Linked DNA regions of Homo sapiens: region 1 is linked to region 2. The links are contacts of gene promoters, found by promoter capture Hi-C in human tissues and cell types (Jung and others, 2019). All regions are on one chromosome and are shown on one strand. The core of a region is centred on a gene start or on the middle of the fragment in contact, and the rest is flanking DNA. Distances in the headings are between cores, read along the strand shown. Region 1 overlaps KCNIP4 (potassium voltage-gated channel interacting protein 4). Region 2 holds the start of KCNIP4 (potassium voltage-gated channel interacting protein 4).

Region 1 (6,558 bases), core at 1,114-3,613, 150 kb after region 2:
ATTCTTGACACATTCATTTCATCATGCCTAATTCTTAACACCACTACTATGAGTTACTGAGTTGCTTAATATGTGCCACACCTGTATCATGCCCTGCCAAGCACAGGGCCTTTGGATATGAAGTCCACAGTCTGGATGGTTCAAGTGTTCAAGTGAGATGAACTTGCTTACTGGCCAGGGCTCAGGAAGGGTGTAGCTGGAAGGGTGAGATTTTCCACTCCCATTTTGCTTGATAAATCTTCCATAGAGGGGAAAATTCATGGAGGCAGAGAGTATAGAGATATTACAGATGAAGGTGTTTTAAAGAGTGAGACTGCAGGATATTTGGTAAACAGCCTCGGGTTCCTGTTAGGTGGACATACAGGTATTAGTCCATTTTCATGCTGCTGATAAAGATATACCCGAGACTGGGAAGAAAAATGTTTAATGGACTCACAGTTCCACACGGCTGGGGAGGCCTCACAATCATGGCAGAGGATGAAAGGCACTTCTTACATGGTGGTGGCAAGAGAGAATGAAAGCAGAAACCCCTTATAAAACCATCAGATCTCGTGGTGCTCTGGTAGTGCACCAGAGCAGTCTGGGGGAAACAGCCCCCATGATTCAACTATCTCTCACCAGGTCCCTCCCTCAACACATGGGAATTATGGAGAGTACAAGTCAAGATGAGATTTGGGTGGAGACACAGAGCCCAACCATATCAATACATCTAGATGGAGTTCCACCAACTTTTGTTTGGTAATAGCTTTATTGAGGTATAATTTACATACCATGAAGTCCACCCATTGCAAATGTAATATCCAGTGATTCTGTATAGATTTCTAGAGTAGTGCAACCATTACCACATGTGGATGTTCAAAAGGCTGTATGTCCTTCTGCCTTCTCAGCCCTCTGTTCTGCAATGAGAGTGAACTCTCACAGTGAGATCCTAATCTCTACCTCTTAAACCAGTGAAGGAATATTTTTAATTTGTGGTCTTTTTCTTCTCCATTGAATTGTAGTCATTTCTCTGTTGTCAGGTAAACATTATAAATTTGTTCTTAGCTTTGTATAAATTTGTTCTTAGCGTTCTAACATTTCAGGTTTCAATATATTGTTTGTTAGTGAGTGGAATGGCAGTGGAATGTGACAGAATGAAATTGTATGTTTAGGAATGTAAGTGCCTGTGTGGAGGGAGATAATAAAGTTTTCATTAAGTCACAAAATTCTATAACTTAGTTTTCCTTTTATATTTATGATAACATATCTATAGGCTGTTATATGAATATTCAAGTAAATTTTGAATATCTTAGAATTATAGGTTTTTAAAGTGGCAGTGGTTTAAAGTCATTTTCTGGTCTAATTTGAGCAGGTGAAATGTTATCCCCCAAACATGAAGCAGCTGATGCTAAGAGTGGCTAAATTTATTCATTCAGGTTTTCATCAATTATTTGATGAATGACTTCTACAACCAAGTCACAGGATTATTTATTAGTGAGGAAAAAGAAAAAGTGAAATTTCTGTGGTCAACTGAGCTGGCTTGGTTGTAACTGCTAATTCAGTGTTTGTTCATCAAATATATAATTTCACAGAATATCTACATCACACAAGGTCACTGTATGATCATGATGGAGTGAGACAAAAACAAGACCACTCTATAATCATGTCTGATCACAAACAAAACAAGAACACAACCCAAGCCATGAAAATGACCATGTGTGCTCAGCTAACATGACTGCTGTTTCTTTACCATCATTTTAGCCTTGCATTGTCCTTCTTGCCTTCTAAATGAAAACTACTAAGATACCCAGTCATAGAATTGGCCTTGCTTTTCAGCATTCAACAGAAAAATCCAATTCACAGTCCCCAGTTGAGAGGAAAATTAGATTTGTCTGAATCTTCCACAAAATCTTCTAACACAAAGCCAAATCTTGTACCAAGCCCCTCTTAATAACCTCTACTGAGACCTTTCCTTCATGGTTCCACGTGGTTGCTTTCTCCCTTGTTGCAATGAGCCTGGCTTTGTTTGACTGCTGATCTATTCCCCGTGATCTTTGCCTGGAGATCAAGTACTTTATGTTTGGAGGTAAAATGGATATAAAGAGACTTTGTCTCAGTTCTCATGGAGCTTTTATTCTGTTCAGAGAGACAGACATAAGTAAGATAATTTGCTAATTAGTAGAAAATTGCCAATGAAATCAGTGCTCTGGAGACAGGAATTGCCTGTTTGTATAACAGGGGTCTGGAAGCTTCACTGGGGAAGTGTCTATTGAACTGAGAGGTAAGAAGGACAGACAAGGGGAAAGGTGGGAAGGGCAAAGGGAAAGGACCTGAGACAGCAGATAGGGTAGCATTTTGGAGACATTGAGAGAAGACCAGTAGCAATAGAGGGCAGGGTAATGGTGGGGGTTGGGCAGGTGAGGTCCAGTGTTAGAGGCTGAATGTTGAAAATTGTGATCTTTTTTTCAAAGAGCTGAAAGAAAGCCATTGAAACATTTAGGGAAGGTAATGGTGTTATCACATCACAGTGCATTGTACAAAGATTTTTGGATGTTGTGTGAAGAACATATTGGGGAGGATCCACGTTGGATGTGGGAAGACTGGCCCAGAGGGTTGTTTAGATGAGAAGTGATAAAAGCTTGGGTGACAACAGAGGAAGTAAGAATGGAGAGTTGTAGACTCTTCTTGGATATATTTTATAGCTAAAATAAATAAGACTGTATAATGGATTAGGATCAAGGAAGTGGGAGATAGAGGGAGGTGTTCTGGCTTGGGCAACTCAAGAGATGTCGTGACATTTACCGGCTTGATGCATGGCACGTTTACTACCTTTACTAACGTCAAAAACCTGCTATATACTGGAACTAAAATTCACTTTGTCTGTCTTCTGGAGCAGGCCTTCATCCCTTTACTTTTAACCTTTGTGTCAAAAATGAAGTACTAGGGAAGACATGGAACTGGGAGAATTTCAGGAAGGTTGGTTCAGGAATTGATATAAGGAAATTTTGAAATATACCATCCTGTTGTGATAATTGGCCATTTTAAAGCCCCTTTAAAAAAATTCCAGGATCAGTAATTTTAAAGCTGACTCTATCAGTTGAATAGGAAGGCTGTTTTCTGGGAATGAAAGTTGGGGTGCAATTTTTGAGAGAGAATGTGGTTTAGGAAATGTGATGATATGTATGATATCTTTTTTAGATGTTATTGGAACCGTGTCTTTATTTTTGTGCTTTTTTATTAATAGGTCAGCCTTCCATTCATCCACTCAACCATTATTTTCCTTCAAAAGCATGTTCAGAGAGTGATTAATTCCCATGTCTGTTGCTAGAAGCTGAAGATAAACAACAATGAGTAATTGTTGTACAATGTAGAGAATGCCAGTCCAGGAGTCAGGAAACCTGATGTTAGCCCCAGATCTGTTTCTATTATGATGTACATTTCTTTAAATAATTTATTATTTTTTGGCCTTTGTTTTCTTATCTGCAATATGGAAATAAAAAATACATATCCTGATTACCTTAGAGGCACAAACCTTTATTTAGGAAAACAAAAACAAAAACTATGCTCCCCAAACTGCAAAGCAACATAAGGGAGGCAGAGAGACGATGAGTTTTGGTTCCTTGTAAAGCGAGGATAATATTACTACAGGCCTAAGGTTTTCAGGATTAGTAAATGAGATAAGACATGTAAGGTCTATCAAATACTAAATATCCTAGTGAAAAACTCTATTCATACTAAATATTAAAACACTAAAAACTGAAATGTTCACTTGTTGTTGGAGAAAGTCAGATTTTAACATTCCTGGCATAGTGGTCAAATACTGTGGTTTTGATTTGTAAGACAGGCAACAGTCTGCACTTCAGTCTCAGTAGCCTGGGGTTAAGAAAAATTAGAATAATATTAATATTAATTCCCATTCTCATTAAACATTCTTTCTCCCATGAAGAACTTCAGGACCTTAGCCCCTTCTGTGCCCTACCCTATGCACCCCACCTAAAATTATTCTTTTTTAAAAAAAAAATTCCCTGAATTCTGTTTGTGTTCTCTATCCCTTTCCTACTATTTTTTTTTCTTGATGACTTCTCTCTGTATAGCTCTTAAGAAGGGTGTTTTATTATGGCACTGTCTAAGAGGCCACTGCTTCTCAGCCTGGTATCTACATCCTGGTGCTGTGCAGCTATAAAAAAATAAAAATCCTTCAGTTAGCCAGGCATGGTGGCACGCGCTGGTAGTCCCAGCTACTTGGGAGGCTGAGAAAGGAGAATTGCTTGAACCCGGGAGGTGGAGGTTGCAGTGAGCTGAGATTGTGCCACTGCACTCCAGCCGGGGTGACAGAGCGAGACTCCATCTCAAAAAATAATAATAATAATAATAAAATAAATAAGTAAAATTCTTCATGTGTCATTTACCACCATTTTCCAAGCAGTGTTCTGGGCAGATATGAGGAATAATGCCTCCGCCTGCCTCCACAACTTGGTGATGTATGTCATGACTTGTGTGTCCCAAATTGGTATTGTTTTAATACCAAATCCATGGCACAATTTCTATAATCACCAATCTAACTCCCTTTCCCTTCTTTCTCTTGCCAGGAACAAAGCCACTCTTTTGGCAACTAGAGGTTGGTCACTGGTTTTACATGACCAGTGATTTTTAAATTCAACGGGGTCTTGTCTACTGCAGCACATTTATCAATCTATTTTAGAGCTTTATTTTTATTCCTTGACGATTTTAACATAAATTTAAAAAGATTACGTGTCAAATACCTTCTATTGCTTATGTAATGATAAAAGTGCTTTGGACATGAAGCTATGAAAACTGGTGTTAGAATATGTTCTCTCTCACACACTAGTTAAATCATCCGAGGGAACACATTTAAAAGTCTCTGAACCTTAGTTTCCTGTAAAATGGACATAAAACCTCCCTGATTTTTCTGAGAAGATGTCCTCAAAAAATCTTGCACAGTGCCTTGCAAAGTTTCTGACTCGGAGAATGAATGTAATGAAAGTGTTGGCCCCAGTTTGACTAAAGAAGGCAGGAGAGACTTCTCATGAGAAACGTTGGCAAATGTTATGACCATAATCTTTTTTCGAAGCTATAGTGTGCTTGATTACCTGAGGCCATCGGGAGAGTTTATGTTTGTCATCATAATATTACATGCTATGTTTGGCAGTATATTATATTCTGCTATACCTGCAATTTATTTGGGGAAGGAGTTTGTATGCGGAATTCTATATTAATGTAAGTAGTATTGGATTTTCCTTCAATTCCTGTAGGTCCTGTTTTATTATTGCCTCAGTCCTTTCTTTTTAGATCATCATGTGAATGATGATGAAAGTAGAAACCATTCATCGAAAACAGAAAATGTACATGATTGGGGAGTGGGTTGTTGTCTCAAGGCAAATAATTCACTTGCTTCTTTTGACTGTAAACTTCTATGTTATTTGAAAGTATTTTGCCTAGGGAGTCACGGTTTTATTTTTTATTTTAGTTCTTTAGAAATGTTGGTAACTTTACTATATGAATTGATCTGATTTGGTTCATTTTTATAATCCTTGCTTCAGCTAGAAAAGGAAAGAAAATGATGGTAAAGGCCCTTTTGAAAACAAACCAAATCTAATAAGAAAGCAAATGTAAAACAATGAATTATAGCAAGTCTTCAGTGTCTCTTATTATTTTAGTTGAAAACCATAAAATCAACCGTGAAAACTGCCAGTTACAGAGCCCTATAGCATAATCAAAATTCCCAGTGATCTTGAAATAATGTAGTACCAACTTGATTTAAATAATTTTGTCACTGATAATTTGATTTTTTTAACACACCAATAGAATGGACAATTTTAGGGGGAAAGAACTCATTTCTCCTTAGGAGGCTGGAGAATATTCAGGATTTTTCTATAAGCTTAGCTATCAAAGATGTGTGCTGTATATAGAGATTATCTTTAAGAAGATTCTTATCCAGATTGAGTGGAGGGGTTGGCAAACATTTTCTATAGTGGGCTCCATGGTAGAAATTTTAAACTTTGCAGTCGTATAGTCACGGTCACAACTACTCAACTCTGTCATTGTAGGATGAATGAAACTACAGATGATAAGGAAATGAGTGGATGTGGTTTGTTCTAAAAAGATTTATTTACAAATATAAGCAGTGTGTCAAGTTTACTCCATGGAGTGTATTTTACTAACCCCTGTTCTAGGGAGAAGGAGGGAAGGAACTTATTTGTTAAATGGTTGACATGTGACATAGAAATCACAGCATTCCAGAGTTCAGAAGTGTGTCTTCAATGCTGTTCTAAGGGCCTGAACATGAAGTCTTTATCCCTATTCAGTTCTGTAACTCCTTTGCACCTGGCACATTCAACAAATATTTACTATCTTGTTTTTAACGTGTTAAAGTCATAACTAAGCAATTTGAAAGTGAATATATATTAATATTTTAGTGAGTGCTGTTGTACTAATTTCTTAGTCACTACCTCTACCTCCCTGCAACAAACAGGTATCATATAGCTTTTGACCAATATTAATGTCAAAGATTACGAAAGCTAATACAGTAAGCCAGGATTAGCACTTGGAGAAGTCTTT
Region 2 (6,175 bases), core at 750-3,249:
CTCTCTCCTGTTACCCTTTCCTTCTCTCAATGTACTTCAGCCCTGTCAACCTCCTGGCTGCCCTGCAAACATGCTATTCTTATGTTAGCTCTTGCTCTTCTCTCTGCTTGGAAGTTCTTTTTCCCTTGAGATGCCCATGGCTAGCTCCTCGCTTTCATCAGGATTCCAATTAAATGTTGCCTCTTTCATAAAGCCCTTATGGACCCCCTATATAAAAGTGATCTCCCTAGCAGATCACTTCTGATTCCTTGATTTATTGTCAGTCTCTCTGCCTTCTAGATAGTCAGCCAATAACTGAGGGTCTTTGTTGTATTCACTGTGGTATCCCAGTGCCTATAATTGTGTCTTGTACACAGTAGTTACTAGATGTTTGCTGAATAATGAAAAAACAAATGTTTAGTGAAGACCAACTATGTGCAAGGAACTTTTCTAATTGCTTTGTCAATATAACATTGTTCTCAACTTCAAGAATCAGGGTTGCCTGTCTTTATACAGTGATTGCTACATGCCAGTCACGGCTCTAAGCCCTTTGCATCTATTGATTTTCTTAAATCCTCACAACAAAACAATAATGTAGGTACCAGTTATAGCTGATATTTGTACCAGGCCACAGGATTATGAAGTAGTGGAACTAGGATTTGAACCCAGACAATGGGGTGTCAGCATCTGTCTCCTTAACAATGAACTAAAAGAGTAAAAGGCTCTCAAGAAATATACAAATACATGCTACAAGGGCTCAAAGGACTAAGTAAATCGCTCGTGCGTTTGGGGGTGGGGAGAAGGGCAATAAGGTGTCAATTGAGACCTACTTGGAGAAAGGGGGAAGATTTCACTTGGTGACAGTGTGTATAAATAATCCAGCAGCCATAGGGAAGGCAAATAGTTTCACAAACACTTAGAAATGGCTTCCACCCAAGTCATGGCCAACTGACCTTGCAGCTGAGAGTGAGAGGGAATTTTAATTCAGTTTGCCTGGAGAACGGGTCAACTTGACCTTTCTTCTGAAAAGAGAGGCTTCATGCACTTGACTCTTGGGGACACAGAAATCTGCATTTTAATTTTGACTTCTCAAACAGTAACCATGGCCACAAGTGGTCTATTGGTTTCTCTTTACCTTCCCAACTATTCCCGGCCTTACTGTGCTTTAGAAGGGCAAATGACCTTGCGGGTGGTGAGCGATACCTCCTGGTTGACCTGCCTGGGAGATCTCAAATGAAACCCCCCACATGGATGCTTCTCCAAAATGCCACCAGTCTATGCCACCCCCTCTCTCCAAGGTGGTATTCTGCACCTCGGCCCTGCGATGTTCACCTGGAGTCTAGAGCCAGTGTTTCCCCACACTTAGCCGAGTCGCATGACCGGTTCTAGCTTCAATGGGGGAAAGTTTCCCGTCTAGGAGTTCTGGCGCTCTGCCCGGCTCCGGAGAAGGGCATCTCCTTGCGCTTCCTCTCTGGTGTCCTTCGAACTCAGCCTAACTTTGTGCAGCAGTATTTCCAGTCTAGCTGTCCAAGTTGGAGCCCCTGGGGGACGCAGCGGCGCGTTGAGAAGGCGCGGCGCCTTCGAGCCCCTCCCCAGAGCAGGCGCTGCTCGCAGTGACAAGGGGTCCTAGAGGCGCCCGCTGAGAGCCGCTGGCAACTCCCGGGGGTGTCCTGCCCAGCCCGAAGTCACCTCGGGTCTCTTTCGGGTCCATCTACTCTGTCGCCAGAGGCACCGTGCCACCCGCGGCGCTTTCCTCTCCCCGCACCCCGCCCCCCGCATCCCCAGTCCGGTGACTTGGCAGCAGGTGGCAGGGGCGGCGCTCACGAGGGCGAGGGGCTGGGGTCCCCGCACTCGAGCCGCCCGTGCAGCCCGCCCGCTTCCAGCCGCCGGCGCGAAGCTGCCGGCGCCTCGGCCTCCCCCGCCACCCCGCGCGCCCCCGCCGCCAAGGGCCGCGCAGCGCCCCCGGCGCCCCCCGCCGGCCTCCGCCCGCACCTGCAGCCCGCTCCGCGCGCCCTGCCCGCAGCCGCCGCCGAAGCTCTCGCTCCCAGCGCCACGGACGCCCCCGGGCCGAGCGGCGGTGCGCTCCCGTGCAGACCCGTGGACAGACGCCCCTGGCCGGTGGACTCTCGAGTCTCGCTTCTGCACCCTGCGTCCCTAGACATGAATGTGAGGAGGGTGGAAAGCATTTCGGCTCAGCTGGAGGAGGCCAGCTCTACAGGCGGTAGGATGCAATAAGCTTGCGAGCGGGCGCCCGCTTCCGCCCTCCTTCCCTCGCGAGCCAAGACGGCTGCCCCTTCCCTTCCTCGGCTGGGGACGCTTGTTGCCTTCGCTGCATGAGACACAGTCACCTGGCGGGACTGGGAAGGGGAGGTGGGAGCGGCAGGAATGGGGTGCAAAGGAGAGGGGGGTGCATGCAAGATCCAGGTCGGGGAAGAAAAGATGTTTGAAGTGTGTTTGAAACTCGCCGGTGGCAGGGTCCCCTGCGATCCTGTGCGTACTTTTGCCTTCTCTGAAAATTTCCGAGGTTGTTTATGCATCTGCCAGATGACTCCAGACCGCACGCTTCCTTCCCCTAACACCTGGGGATTAATGAGCTGAAATAGTATTGATCCTCGCCTTCCACTTTTCCTTCATGCCCCCACACGTTTCTTCATTACAACTGTATTTTTGTCCCCTGGTAATATACTGGCGGCATCTTGCCCATGTCAGATTCTAAAGCAGGAGCGTATGGCTTGTTTTATGGCTAGCTTCAGTTTAGTGTGTTCAGAGAAAATGGTCCTCAGTGACACTTGCAAATAATTTATATACAGTACAGCCTTGTTAAGGTATCGGGCACTGTGTTAGGAGCTTGGCTTTCAGAGAAACGTGCGTTCTGCGAAAGCAGGGAGAAATGTTTTGCTGTTTGGTGGGATCCATAGAGAAATAGGAGACGATGCCCTTCCACAAAGCGTCTTGGGTTGCATCGATTTGTTATTAGGTGGTTTTGATGTGTACAGAGTATTTTACAGGAGCCGGAAAGAGAATGGAAGTGATTTTGGGGCACATGAGAGTGATAAAGGGCTGGACCTCTCCCTGATTACATAAGCTAAGGGGTCACATATGGCTATAGCATAGTTTGGGTTTAGAGGGTGAAAAACTTGGACTCGAGGGCTGTAAACTTGCAAGCAAAGAGGTGTTTCCACTTGCTGCCTTCTTTAGTACTCAGGGAAATGGAGTCACCTCAACAACTTGAGTCAATCATTCGAATTTATGGCCATGAGAAATGGAAATGGACACCCTCCCTTTCTTTTCCTCACTCCAATAGTTAAGGTCATCGTAACCGGGAGGACACTAGTCTCACTTGAATATGAAATTTTAAAGAGAACAGTCTTAATCCTTTTGGACTGGAAAAAATAATATGAACATCACCTGTAAAGCCCCACATTTGACTTGTAACTGTGTTTAGTTCTGTTTTCACTTATGCCTGGAGATGCCCACTCATTACGAGCCAAGCATAAGTAGATTATCTCTTGTGAGAAATGCTTACAATCTTTAAGAGATCAAATGTTTCCTGAGTGGCGTGTTTAATGTAGAGGGCTGAGTAGTTTTGGGGTGTTGAGTTGAGTTCGTAGGGTCTCTGTCTTTGCAGTTCTTTAGAATAAACAGGGTAGAGGGCTAGCGCTGTCCTATTAGAGACACATTCACACACGGCAGCCCAGGGAACTCAAGGCTGGAGCAGATGGCAGGAATGTCGTCTCAGGATCTGGATGGCTTGCATTGCTTGGCTCCTCAGTGACCACAGCTCTTTGACTGTACCTGTTCTTCCATCAACCGGATGGGGATTGAATCAGCATGTCTAGACTATGCACAGGGTCATGGGTGGCCATAATCACTATAAATGGGAAATGAAGATGAAGTCACACCTGGGGAGTACTATACATTTAAAAAAGCAAACCTTTTACTGCTATCTCCAGAATCAGCATGTGTTCACTGTTTATTTAGAGAACAGAAATATGTTGTTTTATACCTTGGCTAAGGTGAGACCAAAGTGATGAGTTTTCTGGCTGAGAATTGATTTGACACCTGTTTCTTGAATTGTATTCACAAATTTTTAGTTAGTTGTCATATGATGAGAAGAATAAAGAAAAAAATAGTTTGGATTATCTTTTTTATTCTTGTTGATATTGCTTCAAAGCTAATATTAGAGAATGATCCCCAAATATGTAATACTATTTTCACCAAACATATGCATAAGTACTTTGCTTACTTGTGATCAGATATAGGATGGTCTTTACTAATCCTGGGATGAGAAGGGATGATTTTTAAAGGCTTAAACTCTGTCTTCCATTTTTGTTTTAAAATAATAGTCCCGATCTCTTGTTCTCTTTCCAATAAGTAGGCTATTTATATAACTCCCAAACTATCTTGTACTATGATACAGTTTTTCCTTGAATATATATCTCTGGAATGGAGGTTTATAAGATGATTTAGCTGGAATCTAAGCAAAATTTAACTGGAAGATCTAACTGAGAGAAATGTAGGTGGATGATAGAGAAATCAAGAATTAGAGAAGTGTGAGTCTGTGTGCGTACGTGTATGTATTTTATGACCTGACTTAGAGATAGAACACTGTGAAAAATGGTTTGCTGAAAGGCAAAGGATGAAACTACATGAATGGAAAGTAGAGAGGAAATGTTGGAAATGACAGAACAGAGTCGAGTTGCAATTCTGAAACTTTATAATAATTTAGTTTAAAAAGTTCGTTCCGTACTCTCTTCTCAACAAGTAAACGCATCTAGTATGCTAACTGATGAACACCACCTGTAAATCACTGTAATTGACATTGTTAATGCCAGAGAGGACAGAAAATGGGTGAGTTGTGCATAAGTACATACAAGTAGAGAAGGTTTCTTACAAATTAGAGTGCTCACTTTTGCCCTGCCAGCTTCCATGTTAAACCCAAAGCCTGACCAAAATACATTTTTCATTTCATTGTCTAATCCCATATTTTGCACTCCTGCTATAAAATCAGAACGTAATCCTGCTAACAGTGGAGAGACTGAGGGAGATGATAATTCAACTATGTTTGAAAGAGAATCAGAAACAAGGTCAGAGGAAAAAAAAAACTACAAAATTATTCATTGGTGTCCTTAATTTGTGCCATCTAACTTAGAGATGGCAGATGTTATGTGATGTAATCTACAACTAAAAATGAGGAAAATGTATGTTTCAATAGTAGAGTAAAAAAATGTCTTCAATTTTGAATTGCCATTTGATGGATGTATCGTGGCTTTGGCTTAAGTTTCATGTGTTTTAAAAATAAGGCAAACTCAAATTAGTAATTCCACAAGGGTAATATTGAAAAATCCATTTATTCTGAATCCATGAAAAGCTTTTCATCATACAATCATTATTTTATTTTCTTTATGTCATATAAATGTAAGAGGTGTACTAAACAAATGATAGGACAAAGTGTTGAAATTCAGCCACCCTCTCTCCCCAGGCCTGAAGCTTATGCCCTCTCATAAAATAAAGCTGTGGATGGTTTGGAAATTAATGAGCCATGCAATATAAAATCTGTGTGCAAGATTTCTGGAGAATTGTAGGCCAGGTAGTGGTTGATTGTTTTGAAGATATATTTCTGGGCTTAAATTATTAAGCCCTTCTTACTATTTTTTGTCCTTTTATTTATTTTTCGTGTTCTCACTTTTTCCAGAACATGTGAATAATATTGCTTTTCAATAATACATAACAGAATGTGTTTTTTTACTTAATAGCCTCTCTTCTTAGCGACTATTTCAAGTAGATTAACGTGTGAGGCAGGGAGGGGGTTGTGGGGAGATGAGTATTTTGTTTGTTCAAGGATCCTTTGCAAGTCTGAAAAATCTTTCAAAATTATATAACTGCACCCATTATTATAAATTAATTTACCCTTGGGCATTGAAGCACCCATTTCATTCCAAAAGTATTCATTTGGTTAAAGGTCCTGAGGGACTTTTCTCAATTCGTGTCGTCCTGAACTCACTGGGATGTTTCATGCTGTTTACCAACATGTGTTGGAAGACTGTGAGCTCTGTGAGAGCAGAAGTATTCTGTCCTGTCCACCACTTTATCCCCAGTATTGAGCATGAAGTCTGACTTGTAATATTTGCTCAACAACAGATATTGAATGAATGAAGCCTTTCCCACTTGCACTGAATTATTCTCCTTTCTCTGA

Evidence for each region. Contacts are between HindIII fragments. The study calls those that stand out against the background at their distance.
Region 1: a fragment that was not itself captured here is called in contact with the fragment with the promoter of KCNIP4 in region 2 in 1 of the 25 tissues and cell types used here (H1 embryonic stem cells).

Annotation. Positions count from the first base shown.
Region 1 is chr4:21,799,399-21,805,956 of GRCh38, reverse strand. The region is part of intron 1 of KCNIP4 (potassium voltage-gated channel interacting protein 4); the gene reads left to right. Among named protein-coding and RNA genes, the nearest start is that of KCNIP4-IT1, 51 kb to the left of the region's middle. The HindIII fragment of the contact is 3,771 bases long and covers 478-4,248 here.
Region 2 is chr4:21,944,596-21,950,770 of GRCh38, reverse strand. It overlaps KCNIP4 (potassium voltage-gated channel interacting protein 4), which reads left to right and starts at 1,999. Exons shown (of 9, transcript NM_025221.6): 1 at 1,999-2,200. The coding sequence starts at 2,140. RefSeq lists enhancers at 1,051-1,551, 1,552-2,052. The HindIII fragment of the contact is 8,414 bases long and covers 1-3,783 here.